Linked DNA regions of Homo sapiens: all the other regions are linked to region 2. Evidence: promoter capture Hi-C in human tissues and cell types (Jung and others, 2019). All regions are on one chromosome and are shown on one strand. The core of a region is centred on a gene start or on the middle of the fragment in contact, and the rest is flanking DNA. Distances in the headings are between cores, read along the strand shown.

Region 1 (3,904 bases), core at 1,294-3,793, 530 kb after region 2:
ATGATCTAAGGAAACCCAGGTTGCAAAAGCTACCAGGGCCATTAATAGGTTTCTTATTAATTTTTTCCCCCACTCAGGAACTTCTGTGTTAGTTTATAACAGCAATTTGGATTCATAGCACTGGATGGTTTACAGAGTTCATTTCTGCACATTTTTATCTTAAGATCTTTAAACAATACTATGACTATGACCTAGAGAGTGCAGATTTTATCTCCAACATATAGAAAATAAACTGAGGCTTAGGGATACACTAAAGATAACCACTTAATGGTAGAGACTAGAACTTAACTCCAAATTCAATCTTCATTCTACTACTTTCTGCCTTCCTACTATGAATTCTAAATCAGATCTTCAAAAAATTTAAAGATGATAGCAGTCATATCCTTATATCGAGAATTTTAAACACCCAGTATGTCTAGTTTAAGTACCTATTCTGGGAGATAAGTGATCTTTAAATCACCCACTCTTTCACGCAACCCCATCTCAGAACTGAGAGTGAATTCAGGAATATTTTTCCAGCCTCGGAATAGAGAATCCTTTGGGAAAATAATTTTAATGGTTATGGATCACTAGCAAATCTTGACTGGTATTTTTTTTTTAAACCAAGCCATCTGGCAGTTGTGTCTTATTTCTTCCTGCTGTCAATGGCTGGACCCACACACATTCCAACCTCATACAAGAATGCCAATGTCTGCACATTTTCACTATGAACAGGCATTTTCAGTCAAAGCAGAGAGAAATGAGGCTCTGCCTGTCTGTGGCAATAACATTAATATTACCTCTGTACAGATGCTTTTAGAAGTATGAAGTTAAATGCAGAGCCCTGGAGATGCCTAGAAGCACACATGAGATAAGCACAGCCATTCACGGAAGACCTAAGAAACTGAGCATTTGCAGGACAAACTTTTCACCATGACAAAGTACAGCAATGTTGCGTATTCCAATATGAGACTGACAGCAGGAAATAATGACAATAAGATAAGTGTAAGATGCATTTATGATGCAGAGAGGTGGAAGATACATTTATATGTATGTATTTGGTCAGAATAAGCAAGGATATTATTAATTACCAATGTAAATTTAGCCTTGGGGAATAAAACAGCTGAAATCTGAAGGCAGCAAAGTCAGTCTGGCTACAGATAAGCTAAGAAGTGTAGATCTGAAATAAACATTCATTACAATCCCTTTGACAAGAAAAACTGTTATATTAGTGGATAGCATTTAGGAACTCAGAGGAGCAGAAGGTCAGCTTCACAACAAAAATGCCAACTGCTAAATGAATGTGCTGAGCAAAACTGGCCAGAGAGTGCCCTCACAAAGGCAGCGGTAGGGTGGGACTGGCCCCTGGGGATGCTGAAGAAAATGCTGGTGTCCAGTGGCTTATTGACCCATTTCACTCTCATTCTTTCAACTGCTGTTAAGTGAAAACAGGGTTACATGTGAGCATACACACCTGTGCATCTGTATACATGCATATTTATTTAATGCCAGCAGTCTCTTTCCTGTTTACCCTTCTAACTTCATAAACAAGAGGAGAACATTTTCTAGGCATTAAAAAAATCTGATAAAGCAGAACCACCCTAACTTATGGGAAAAGAAGAAAAGCATTTAGTCCATTGAGTCAAGCTCATGGAACCAGAAGTATGCTTGGAAATCGGCCATTAAGGATAAAGTTGAGCATTTGCAATCCAGGCACTAGATCTAAATACCTACAATTGTTTGTTCATGTCATGGACTAAATATGCAGGTTGTATTTTAACATTCATTTTGACCCCTGCATTGAATTCTGTAGATAACAAGGCTGTTTTCTATTTGTGGATCATGATAGTGGCCATCAGATGCTCTGCAATGGTGTACTTACCTAAAATGTGAGGCCATGGTCAGAATTATATAGTGTTCATCTTATTTTAAAGAGTTAAAAACTGTAGTTTTAGGAAATCAAGAGATTTTTAGGATTTTACGCATGTGCACTTGGTGAAGATTTCACTACTCTGTAATTCAGGTTTTGCTTTTTATTTTTCATGCAAATAGAACCAAGACACTATTCTCTCCACAATAAGGGAGTTAGAGACTGGAGCCCAGAAATGAGACCAAGCATAGGCTTGGTCTTGACTTTGTACCTTAGCCATGATCGGTTTATTGCATTTTATAGTTGGATCATTCCTTTATTCCATGACTGTGAAGTGTGAGGTGGAGACAACAGGATTAGTAACACATTAAGTGATTTATTCACTTCCATTAATTGCCAACTATATATGAGGAACTATGATAAGTATTAGGGATGCAGAGATGAATAAGACAAGGCCTCTGATTTAGAAGATCTCATAGTTAAATGAAGGAGGTAAATTAGCAGACAAATCATAATACAAATAGTCTAACTGAGACATGACTAAAATGTTCTGGAAATTTAGAGGAGAAAGAAACCCTGCCATTGTGAGAGGGCATTTGACTTGGGTCTTGAGTACTTTTTGAATATTTGTATTAATTCTCCCAGGAAAAATAAAGTGAGGAGCCTTCCAATCTCATGTGTCTCACAAGCCTTCTGCTAAAATGATTGAGATTTGCTTAAAGCTGGCTATATGCTACAGCAACTATATATATATTTTGTTTCTCAGTTTACAAAGTGCTTTCTAGCATGACTCTCACAAAATGCCCTTACCATGGGGATTATTCTCCCCATTTTACATGTGAGAATGCTGAGGCACTGAATGGGAAGTAACTTGCACCAGGGCCTGGATTCAAACATTGCAAATATTGGCTTTCTTCCAATTCCAAAAACTTAAATCTTTTTTCTTGTTTATATAAACAAAAAAGTGTATATATATATACACACACACACACTTTGGAGATACATATATACACACACACACACACACACACAACCTTGATTATAGAAATAACAAATTTCAACAGCATCATTTCATTAAGCTTCCCATTTAAAATGGATCCATTTCATTTATGCTTCTATTGAAGAGATGGATGTTCATCTGGTCCTGTTTCCTATTAGCTAAAAGGAACTTTGGAATTGCTCTGCTGGAAAAGCCCATGTTCCATCCAACCTAATATTGTGTTGACAACAGAGGCCTCAAGGGATTTGCCAGGGAAGGACATAGTTTTCCTCCCTGACATTAACCTTAAAGGTTAGGTGTACTCTCAGTAGCCATTTATGGCTCTGACATTCATAAATTTGGTCAAAACCTTTATGAATCCATTTATATTCCTTGCCTGTACCTCTTTTGTGATAATGAGCTCCATACGTTTATTATTTTCTTTGTAAAGTAATACTTCCTTTTATTGGTCCTTAACTCACCTCACTCAAGTTTCAAGGGGGTCCTCTACTTCCAGTGAGAAATTGAGGATTAGTAGAATAACTGTGCTGTGTTCAGTTTACAAATGATCTCCAAAATTCTCCGGGTTTATTTTATTTTTGTCTAAAGCAAGAATAAATAAACTGTACATTATATTTTTATTGTAGAGAGACCAATATTTTATTTAAAGATGAAGATTCTGCCTAGTGGCATATTTTTAGTATACTTTTTGATGCTGCTAAAATTTGCTCTAGAAAAATAACCTCATTTTGGTATTTGTAATACACATTTTGCATGTCGAAGGCAGCTCCAATCTGGCTATGGGGAAAGCTTGAGGTAATTTTTGTTGTCTTCTACAACCACTTTTGAAGAGTAAGTATATTGCATATTATGTATATTTGATAACTGATTATAATGGATGATTATAATGGATGTATGAGAGAATATCATGAAGTAGTAGAAGAATGCTGTCCTAGGTGTCAAAGACCTGGTGTTCTAAAACCATTTCTGGACTGTAGATTTCAAGCTTATGAGATTAGGGATTAAATTAGGTAATTTTCAAGATTACTTTGTACTTTAAAATTGTAAGTCCTTGA
Region 2 (4,403 bases), core at 1,113-3,612:
AGCTAGTGGTACCTAAAAACTACATTTGAAACTAACAACTAAGAGAAGTCTTAAACTGGACTGATATTATGCATATTATTAACCTTTAAAGTGGTTCCTATACTATACTCCACGGAAATATTTCAAAGTAAGAAAATCCCATTTGTATTAAGATGCTTATACCTAAGTTTTTGTAGACAAATTGTGGAAAGAACCTAAATATCTAACAAATGGGAAATATTGAATGTAGCAGAATATTACATGGCCATTAAAAATAACTATATGGGCCGGGTGCGGTGGCTCATGCTTGTAATCCCAGCACTTTGGGAAGCCGAGGTGGGTGGATCACAAGGTCAGGAGTTGAGACCAGCCTGGCCAACACCGTGAAACCCCGTCTGTACTAAAAATACAAAAATTAGTTGGGTGTGGTGGTGGGCACCTGTAATCCCAGCTACTTGGGAGGCTGAGGCAGGAGAATCGCTTGAACCTGGGAGGCAGAGGTTGCAGTGAGCCAAGATCGCGCCACTGCACTCCAGCCAGGGCGACAGAGCTAGACTCTTTCTCAAAAATAAATAAATAAAAATAAACAACAACAACAACAAGTAAGTATATGGGGCTGGGTGCGGTGGCTCACACCTGTAATCCCAGCACTCTGGGAGGCCGAGGACAGATCACCTGAGGTCAGGAGTTTGAGACCAGCCCGACCAACATGGAGAAACCCCGTCGCTACTAAAAATACAAAATTAGCCGGGCGTGATGGCGCATGCCTGTAATCTCAGCTACTCGGGAGGCTGAGGCAGGAGAATCGCTTGAACCCAGGAGGCGGAGGTTGCGGTGAGCCGAGATCTCGCCATTGCACTCCAGCCTGGGCAACAGGAGCAAAACTCCGTCTCATAAACAAACAAACAAAAAACTATATGGACTATGCTAGTATGGGAAAGTCATCAGAAAATAATTTAGTGTAAATAGAGAACACAAATGTATATTAAATACAGTTTATGTAAAAATCATTTCCACAATAAAGAAGGGCCTAAAATAGTCATGGTCTTATTATAGTTCTTGTAATAGGTGTTCCTCTGTAAAAGTACTTGGTGGGTTTTATTAACTCCGAATTTAAAGTTCATTATATAATATTTATATCTGAGTTATTTACCTTGGGGTTTTCCAGCTTGTAGTACATTACTGATGTCACAATAAGCATATGACATCAAAAAATATATATAAGGGACTTTTTGCAAAACCTTTGTTGGGTAAGAGCTAATTTCCACAGTAAAAACAGACACCAAAGTTAAAACAACTAGAACGCTTTGATTCAAGAAGCTAGTTAAAAGCTAATAAAATTCAATACATGGTTTTCAAGGTAGTTTATTTGACCTAGTTTCGTCCAATGTCTGAACAGATCAGATTTCAGCAATAAAATTACCTTACTTTCAGGGAACTGATGAATACTTGCAAAACAGTGCCCTTCTAAGCAGCTATATTAATATATTCTATTTTCTCGACCCGGTCCCACCTCCACCTGTAGCATGACTTGAAGAACCGTGAACAAGAAATTAGACAGGTTTATATCCTAAGAGTAGGCTCGTTTACATTAGATGGTTTTCAGGACTGTCAGGGCAGAAATGGGGTAAGGGTGTCTCTTTCCCAACCATAGATGGGTAGAAGAAAGTGTACAGGCTGATGGTGCAGAACCCTCTTACCTCCAGTTTCTGTAATTCCCACACGCATAGGGGAACCGCAACCACTATTGACACCAGGTAGATGACCGCTACTAAAGGTCGAATCCACTGTCTCCAGTTCCTCCAGGTACAAGTGCAAGGCATGTTTTCGCACAAATCAGATCCGGTTAGCAAGGGAAAAGATCTCGAAAAGATTGTAATGGGGAGCCCTGTTCTCTGGCTGTTTTGTCAACTCGCATACTACGGAGAAAAAGCTGTCGGGCGACTTTACGAACAGCTCGAGCCGCCTCCTGGACCGGCGCTGTGTCTTCTGCTGCTGCTGCTTCTGCAAATGTAGCCTCTCAGGGTGCTATTGGCGAGCAGTGCAGGCAACATCCTTTCTTCTCCACCCCGCATCTACCCGGTTGTACTGCGGTGGAATCCCAGGCAGAGCCGCTGCCCTCACCTGGGGATCGCCCTGAGCTCTGCCTGTACCATGGCTTCCAGGAGAGCAGCACAGACCAGGAACCGGCCTCTAGGGACCCTGCACACTCCGGTTCTGTCTCGCAGCTGCCTGCCCACTCGCTCTTTTCTTTGGGGATCGAGCTTCCTACCTCCCGCACTGGCAGGCGTCTCTTCAGTCGATTCCGCTAGTAGGTAAGGCCCCAGGATCTCCTCATTCTTTCGCACGGGACCTCCCCTACAGCGGAACCCAAGGCCAAACCAAGACTTTCAGCTCTTTTCCGCTTCCGCCCCTGCTGTCTGAGGCAGGTGATTCGTCGTCAGCGCCAAACTGGGCCCGCCCCATCCGACTCACTTTGCGCCCTCTGATTGGTCAGCTGTGGGGGCGGGGCTGCAGGATTGCGTACTGGGGTTAGAAAGAAGAGCAGGTGCGTGGAAGTGGGTGGAATTGCCGCAGATGGTCCAGCGGGCTATTGCAAGGATTCTGGAAGCTGCGGGAATTATTTGAGGACACTTGAAGCACACCTACTACATTCTTCTGCTGGCGTTATTCCAGTTTAAAGAAAGCTTGGGTAAGGGGCGGTTACTTCAGAGTTGGACTGGAAGAGAGAAGGCCCATCTCTACACAAAACATCCCCTATTCAATCTAGAGTGGATACAGAAGCCCGCTGGAGTAAGAAGACAAGGAAGAATGGGAAACCTCCACCTAGTTTTCTGTCAGTTGCTAGAATCTAGGGGCTAGGCCGCTTGGTTATTTCTGGATCCTACAGAAGGATCATTCTAAAGGTAGCTTCATTTTAGAATTAACCGCAAATAGGGAATGTCCCTTCTACATTTGGAACTTGTGTTAAAAATTTGCACTCATTTAAGTTTTAAAAAGTTGACATTCCATCTGACAAAGGAGTTTCATATGCTTAAAGCCTTTAGCTAAACCAATAGAGTAAACAAATATCTACTACTCAATTACATATACAAATGCGTTTTATATTGTAATTGTAATTTTCAGGGGGACAGGCACTGTACTAAGTTCATTACCTACATTATGTAAGTTGTTCTGCACAAAAATTTTGAGAGGTAGGCATTTTTCCACTTTACAGATAAAAAAGTCAAGTGGCTGATAAATTTGCCCAGGCTCACTGAGCTAGTTAAGTGGTAGTGTGGAGATAGCAACCTTGGTCTTTGTGACTCCAAAGGGCATTATATTTAAGCATTTGACCTGCTAGTACCTGCCACCTGGGGAATTTCCGCCTAATGACCATACGGATAAGGAGGCTTGTAACATTGAGTACACCTAGCCCAGGAGTCTCACAGAGACACCTAAGGAATATTATGAGCCCCTTTTTTGGTATCGTCTGTTTGGACTTGACTTCACTGCCTACTTCTCAGTTGTTAACATTTGTATTTTACAACCTGACCCAAACTACTTTCTACCGGAAAAATAGGCCTTATGTTTGTTCTTCCTAAGCTTACTTTAAAAATGGAAATTAAGGCTGGGTGCAGGGGCTCATGCCTGTAATCCCAGCAGTTTGGGAGGCGGAGGTGGGCGGATCATGAGGTCAGGAAATCGAGACTATCCTGGCTAACACAGTGAAACTCCGTCTCTACCAAAAATACAAAAAATTAGCCAGTTGTGGTGGCGGGAGCCTGTAGTCCCAGGTACTCAGGAGGCTGAGGCAGGAGAATGGCGTGAACCCGGGAGGCGGAGCTTGCAGTGAGCCGAGATCAAGCCACTGCACTCCAGCCTGGGCGACAGAGCGAGACTCTGTCTCAAAAAATAAATAAATAAATAAATAAATAAAATTAATTAAAAAAAATTCCTGATCATTAAATTAATGCTTGCTCTGTTGTTAAAGTTCATAAAAAAGAAGAATAATGAAGAGAAAGTTAATTTTACTCTACGGCCAAGTATAACTACTCTTTACTTGTTTGGTACACAGTAGAGGCTATCTTGGATATGCCGTATGCGTAGATTGTCTCTGTGCTTTCAGCTACAGCGTTTTTGCTGCCTATAATCTTTCCCATTCTTTCTCATGGGCAAACTTTTTTTGCCTAATTTGTGAGACCTTCCTTTATTTTTGTTTCCCCATGTATTCTTACAGCATTTATATGGTATTATACTCATTTACTTATTTGTCTTGTTTAGATTTTGAATTCCTAAAGCAAAAATCTAAATCCATTAGAAAAAAGCAAAAGAGAGAAGAGATGAGACAGATGCACAAATGATTTCACATACCAGTTTGCGAACTGGAATTCTTCTATGGTGAAATTTCTTCAGCTCAGCAGAGAAATTAAAAACAAAATTAC
Region 3 (4,392 bases), core at 1,480-3,979, 520 kb after region 2:
TTCCATAGTTATGAATTCAATGTAGCTCCGCGCCCCCCACCCACCAAATCAAATGCCTATGGCTCACACGGTTTTCACGTGTGTTCTACATTTCTCGTTGAGTCACAGACGGGAGCAGTGAACCCTGAGGAAACTCAGTACACATTCTAAGGACAGTCACGCCAGAAGCTTGCCTCCCCAGGCTTCATGCAGCCCCAGTGAGTCAGGCAGAACTTTCCCAGCAAAGCAGCCTGTGTGTCACAGTGGACCAAGGCGAGCTCCTGCTGTTATAAATAGATTCTTAGTGGGACTGGGAAGGGCATGGAGACACCAGAAAATATAGCAGTTCTGGGTGGGGTGGCAGACTGAGGACAGAAAGTGGTAACAGACTATGATGCAAGTTAAATTGATGCCAGAACCTAGGCTTCTGCTATTAACAGTGTTTCCTTTCTCAGAAGGGACTAACTGGGCAGTTCTTTGGCTCCAACTGACTTCTACCCCCCTTGCTAAATCATTTGATTTCTGCTGGCTCGCACCCTCTTTGCTTCTTCCTGGCAAGCTCTTGGGCTGATTTCCAATCGCTTCCCCTTGTGGGTACCCTTTTCCAGGGTTACTTGAGGTCGTGCAGTTGTTTTGTTTCTTCACAGACTTTTAGGCAAAGTTATTCCACATGGCTCTTTAAAGGCCACCCAAACTACAAATTTCTTAAAAATATATGTGCATATACATGGGGAAAAATCATAAATTTGAGTAAAAATGTTCATTATAAAACAAAGCTAAAAAAAAAAAGCCAGTGGCCCCCACACCAAATCTGAATAGACTACATGGTCCAAATTTTGTATTATAACCTTATAGGAATAGATTATGTTTACATTACTATACAAATGCATAGACAAAACTACAATAGCAATATAAAACCTGGAAGGAAATATAAGAAAATATTTATAGGAATCTACCTCATGTAGTACAATTATAAATTATTTTTATGGTTTTCATTATAATTTTCTTCACTTTCAAATTTCTATAATGGTATATATAAGTTTTATAGTAAAAACTATTTAAAAACCACCAGTTGTTTTTTTTTGTTTCCATTTTTACATCAGCTAGTACATACAGTTTTCTAAAACAGCAATAGCTGTGTGCAGCTGGTGGTATATGGTGGGTGGGGTGGGTGTAATATAGGAAGAGGAATGTAGAAAAGAACAGTATGTTCAGAAGAAATGAATTGAGGCTCTTGCTTTAGACATAAAGTATTTTACACAAATTGCCCAAGACTTCTCATTTACAGTCGGTCACAAGCTATAGTGAATATTGGCTGGGTTTTGGCAATGCTGAATGCAATTTTGCCTTTCTTTTCTTTCCTTTTCTTTCTTTTCTTTTCTTTCTTTCTTTTTCTTTTCTTTTTTTTTCTTTTTTTCTTTTTCTTTTTTTTTTTTTGAGATAGAGTGTCGCTCTGTCACCCAGGCTGGAGTGCAATGGCACGATCTCGGCTCACCACAACTTCTGCCTCCCGGGTTCAAGTGATTCTCCTGCCTGAGCCTCCTAAGTAGCTAGGATTACAGGTGTCCACCACCACACCTGGCTAATTTTTTTATTTTTAGTAGAGATGGGGTTTCGTCATGTTGGCCAGGCTGGTCTCAAACTCCTGACCTCAAGTGATCTGCCCTCCTCGGCCTCCCAAAGTGCTGGGATTACAGCCGTGAGCCACTGAGCCTGGCCAATTTTGCCTTTCTAACAACAATTTTCTTTTCAGAAATTAGTTCTCACCCAGTCTAGTTTAACTGTTATCAGGAGCCCCATACTTACTTAGACTGGGGACAGATACACAACCCAAGTCTAGTTATTGAAATGTTCTTTTTGCTGTGAATTTGAACTATGAATAGAGAGACAAAAGAACTGAAAAACTGATTGTAACTCCATTAGGTCCTGGCAGCACCTTGTCATTCCCGCTACCTTGTCCAGGGCCTGCCTTGCTATGTGCCTGTTCCCAAGTCTAACTAAATTCCCTGCTGCTTAAGTTAATCAGAATCAGTTTCTTTTGCTCATGCCTGTGTCATACAGTTATTTTTACAGCTTGACTGGGGCATCTCCATGCTGACCTCCATGAATGCCTGGATGCTTTGCTTTGACACTTGGCCAATTTAAGGTCAGTGGGCTAACTAACCAACTAATCAGTGATTTGCAATGCACTGTTTACAGTCCAGAAGTCCCCTGGCGAAACCCAGGGCCAGAATGTTTGTTGATAGCTTTCACCTGGTGTGACCAGTTGCCTGTCTTGGCTAACAAAGGGGTGAGGGGTTTGGGGAGACTGCTGTCTAGAGGTTTTGAGAAGCCAAGTTCATATCACAAGTCTTGGTTATTTAATCTGGAGAGCAAGCACCTCCTCACACAAATCAGAAGAAACACAGTGCCTGGAGATGTCTCAGATTCCCAGTGCTTGAGTGCCATCTCTTTCTCTTGGTATACCTGAGCTTTTACCTTTATTTGAAGTCTTAGGTGAGTGTGCTTTGTGAAATTTCCTGAGCCCTTTCAGATAACTTAATCTGAGTAATCTTTTTGGGACCCTAACTGACACAGAAGTAAATAGCAGATACAGAGTGACAGAAAACCCTCAGTGATGAAAAGGTCTAAGACAGCGAGTAGGTAGAGGCACGATTTAAGGTGGAGAGAGGGGCTTGGCTAGCTAGGCAGTCTTTTTAAAAACAGTTTTTTTAAATGTTTATTTCTTCAGAGACAGGATCTTGCTCTGCTCTGTTGCCCAGGTTGGAGTGCAGTGGTGCCATCATAGCCCACTGCAGCCTCAAACTCTTGGGTTCAAGGAAGCCTCCCACCTCAGCCTCCCAAAGTGCTGGGATTACAGGAGTTAGCTGCCATGCCTGTCTAACAGTCTTTCATATCAGATCCAGAGAGGGGCAATGTGCAGTCATTTTTCCATGAATGTGTGAAAAACTAGGCGGCATTCTAGACCATTCTTATAAGATACTGTATATCAGAATGAAGTCAGGAGAACCTTTGACTGTTTTGTGAATATGATAGAACCCATTCCTGTTACTGGACAGGTGTCAAAGCCGTGGCTCCGCGGTAGTGCTAATGAGCAGGTTGCTGCTGCTCTTCTTGGGTGCATCTTCCTCACAATTCCATGCCCCGGGTTGCATCCTCTGGGCCGGTTCTACCATTCTCCTGTGGTTGCTTGGTGAATTGTAAGCTAAGATCTAGTCAGGGAATGATATGTTGGGAGTCAGTGAATGATATGTTCCAAAAATGCTGTTAATCTGTGGCTGGGTGTGGTGGCTCACACCTGTAATCCTAGCACTTTGGGAGGCTGAGGTGGGTGGATCACCTGAGGTCAGAAGTTTGAGACTAGCCTGGCCAACATGATGAAACCCTGTCTCTACTAAAAATACAAAAATTAGCTCGGCATAGTGGCGGGTACCTGTAATCCCAGCTACTCAGGAGGCTGAGGCAGAAGAATCACTTGAACCCAGGAGGCGGAGGTTGCAGTGAGCCGAGATCACACCACTGCACTCCAGCCTGGGTGACAAGAGCGAGACTCCATCTCAAAAAAAAAAAAAAAAAGAAGCTATTTATCTACTGGGGTCAAGCTGTGGATGAGTTCTGGTTCACAGAGATTTGCAGGATTCACTGGTTCCATTCCTCTCTTTTTGAAATAATCAATTGCGTTATTGCACTATCACAGTGAAGTTTAAGTCTTTATTTTTTAATCTCCTGTACTGGCTGTGAGCATTTGATTGCTGCAGTTTGGCATTTATCTTCCCATTTTCAACAGTATCAAGCAAATGCCTTGCATATAGTAGGTGCTCAAAAAGTATTTGCAGAATAAGCATATACATGTATATATTTATACATTTGATGACCAAGCTACCAGAAGTTCAAAGAAACCTGTGTTTTTCCTTCTGCTCCACTGTCATAAATTAGAGAGTGACAAAAAGGAAGCACAATAAACTGATAAAAGAAAGAAATGCAGCTTATATCCTCATTTATAAAATGGGGATAATGATCCTACCTACCTCCAAGGGTTGTTCCAAGGATTAAATGAGCTAATTTTTCTAAGCAGTTTCTGGTACATAGAAACCATCCCCCACCACATTCCCTTGGCCATGTAATCACACAATAAACCCAATATCTAAGGCCTTACCAGCAAGGAGTTTGCAATATAAGCTGAAAGGCTGCTATAAGCCTTGTATTCTCTATCACCCTTTCTCTGGGTTATCCTTAGATATTCTCTCCTGGCAGATCTTCCTGCATGTGCACAGACTGGAACAGGAAAGCCCTACTGTATCTCCTTGGCCTCAGGCTACCCGTAAATTCTTCAAGAGGGCTAGTGGAGGCTTTCTATAAACCCATTCTCTCACACCGATCATGCGCCTTTTCATTTCCAAGGGATTAGATAGG

Evidence for each region. The method cuts DNA at HindIII sites, captures the fragments that hold promoters and counts their contacts. A contact is called where the count stands out against the background at its distance.
Region 1: a fragment that was not itself captured here is called in contact with the fragment with the promoter of TMEM184C in region 2 in 2 of the 25 tissues and cell types used here (dorsolateral prefrontal cortex and mesenchymal stem cells).
Region 3: a contact is called between a fragment that was not itself captured here and the fragment with the promoter of TMEM184C in region 2, in 1 of the 25 tissues and cell types used here (dorsolateral prefrontal cortex).

What each region holds. Positions count from the first base shown.
Region 1 is chr4:147,082,841-147,086,744 of GRCh38, reverse strand. All of the region lies in intron 2 of LOC105377476 (a long non-coding RNA gene), which reads right to left. Among named protein-coding and RNA genes, the nearest start is that of TTC29, 140 kb to the right of the region's middle. The HindIII fragment of the contact is 4,512 bases long and covers 288-3,904 here.
Region 2 is chr4:147,615,356-147,619,758 of GRCh38, reverse strand. It overlaps TMEM184C (transmembrane protein 184C), which reads right to left and starts at 2,362. Exons shown (of 10, transcript NM_018241.3): 1 at 1,680-2,362. The coding sequence starts at 1,802. TMEM184C-DT (TMEM184C divergent transcript) reads left to right here and starts at 2,514. Exons shown (of 2, transcript NR_186679.1): 1 at 2,514-2,671. RefSeq lists enhancers at 1,943-1,992, 2,023-2,142. The HindIII fragment of the contact is 7,307 bases long and covers 1-3,115 here.
Region 3 is chr4:147,099,594-147,103,985 of GRCh38, reverse strand. No RefSeq gene overlaps it. Among named protein-coding and RNA genes, the nearest start is that of TTC29, 160 kb to the right of the region's middle. The HindIII fragment of the contact is 6,894 bases long and covers 1-4,392 here.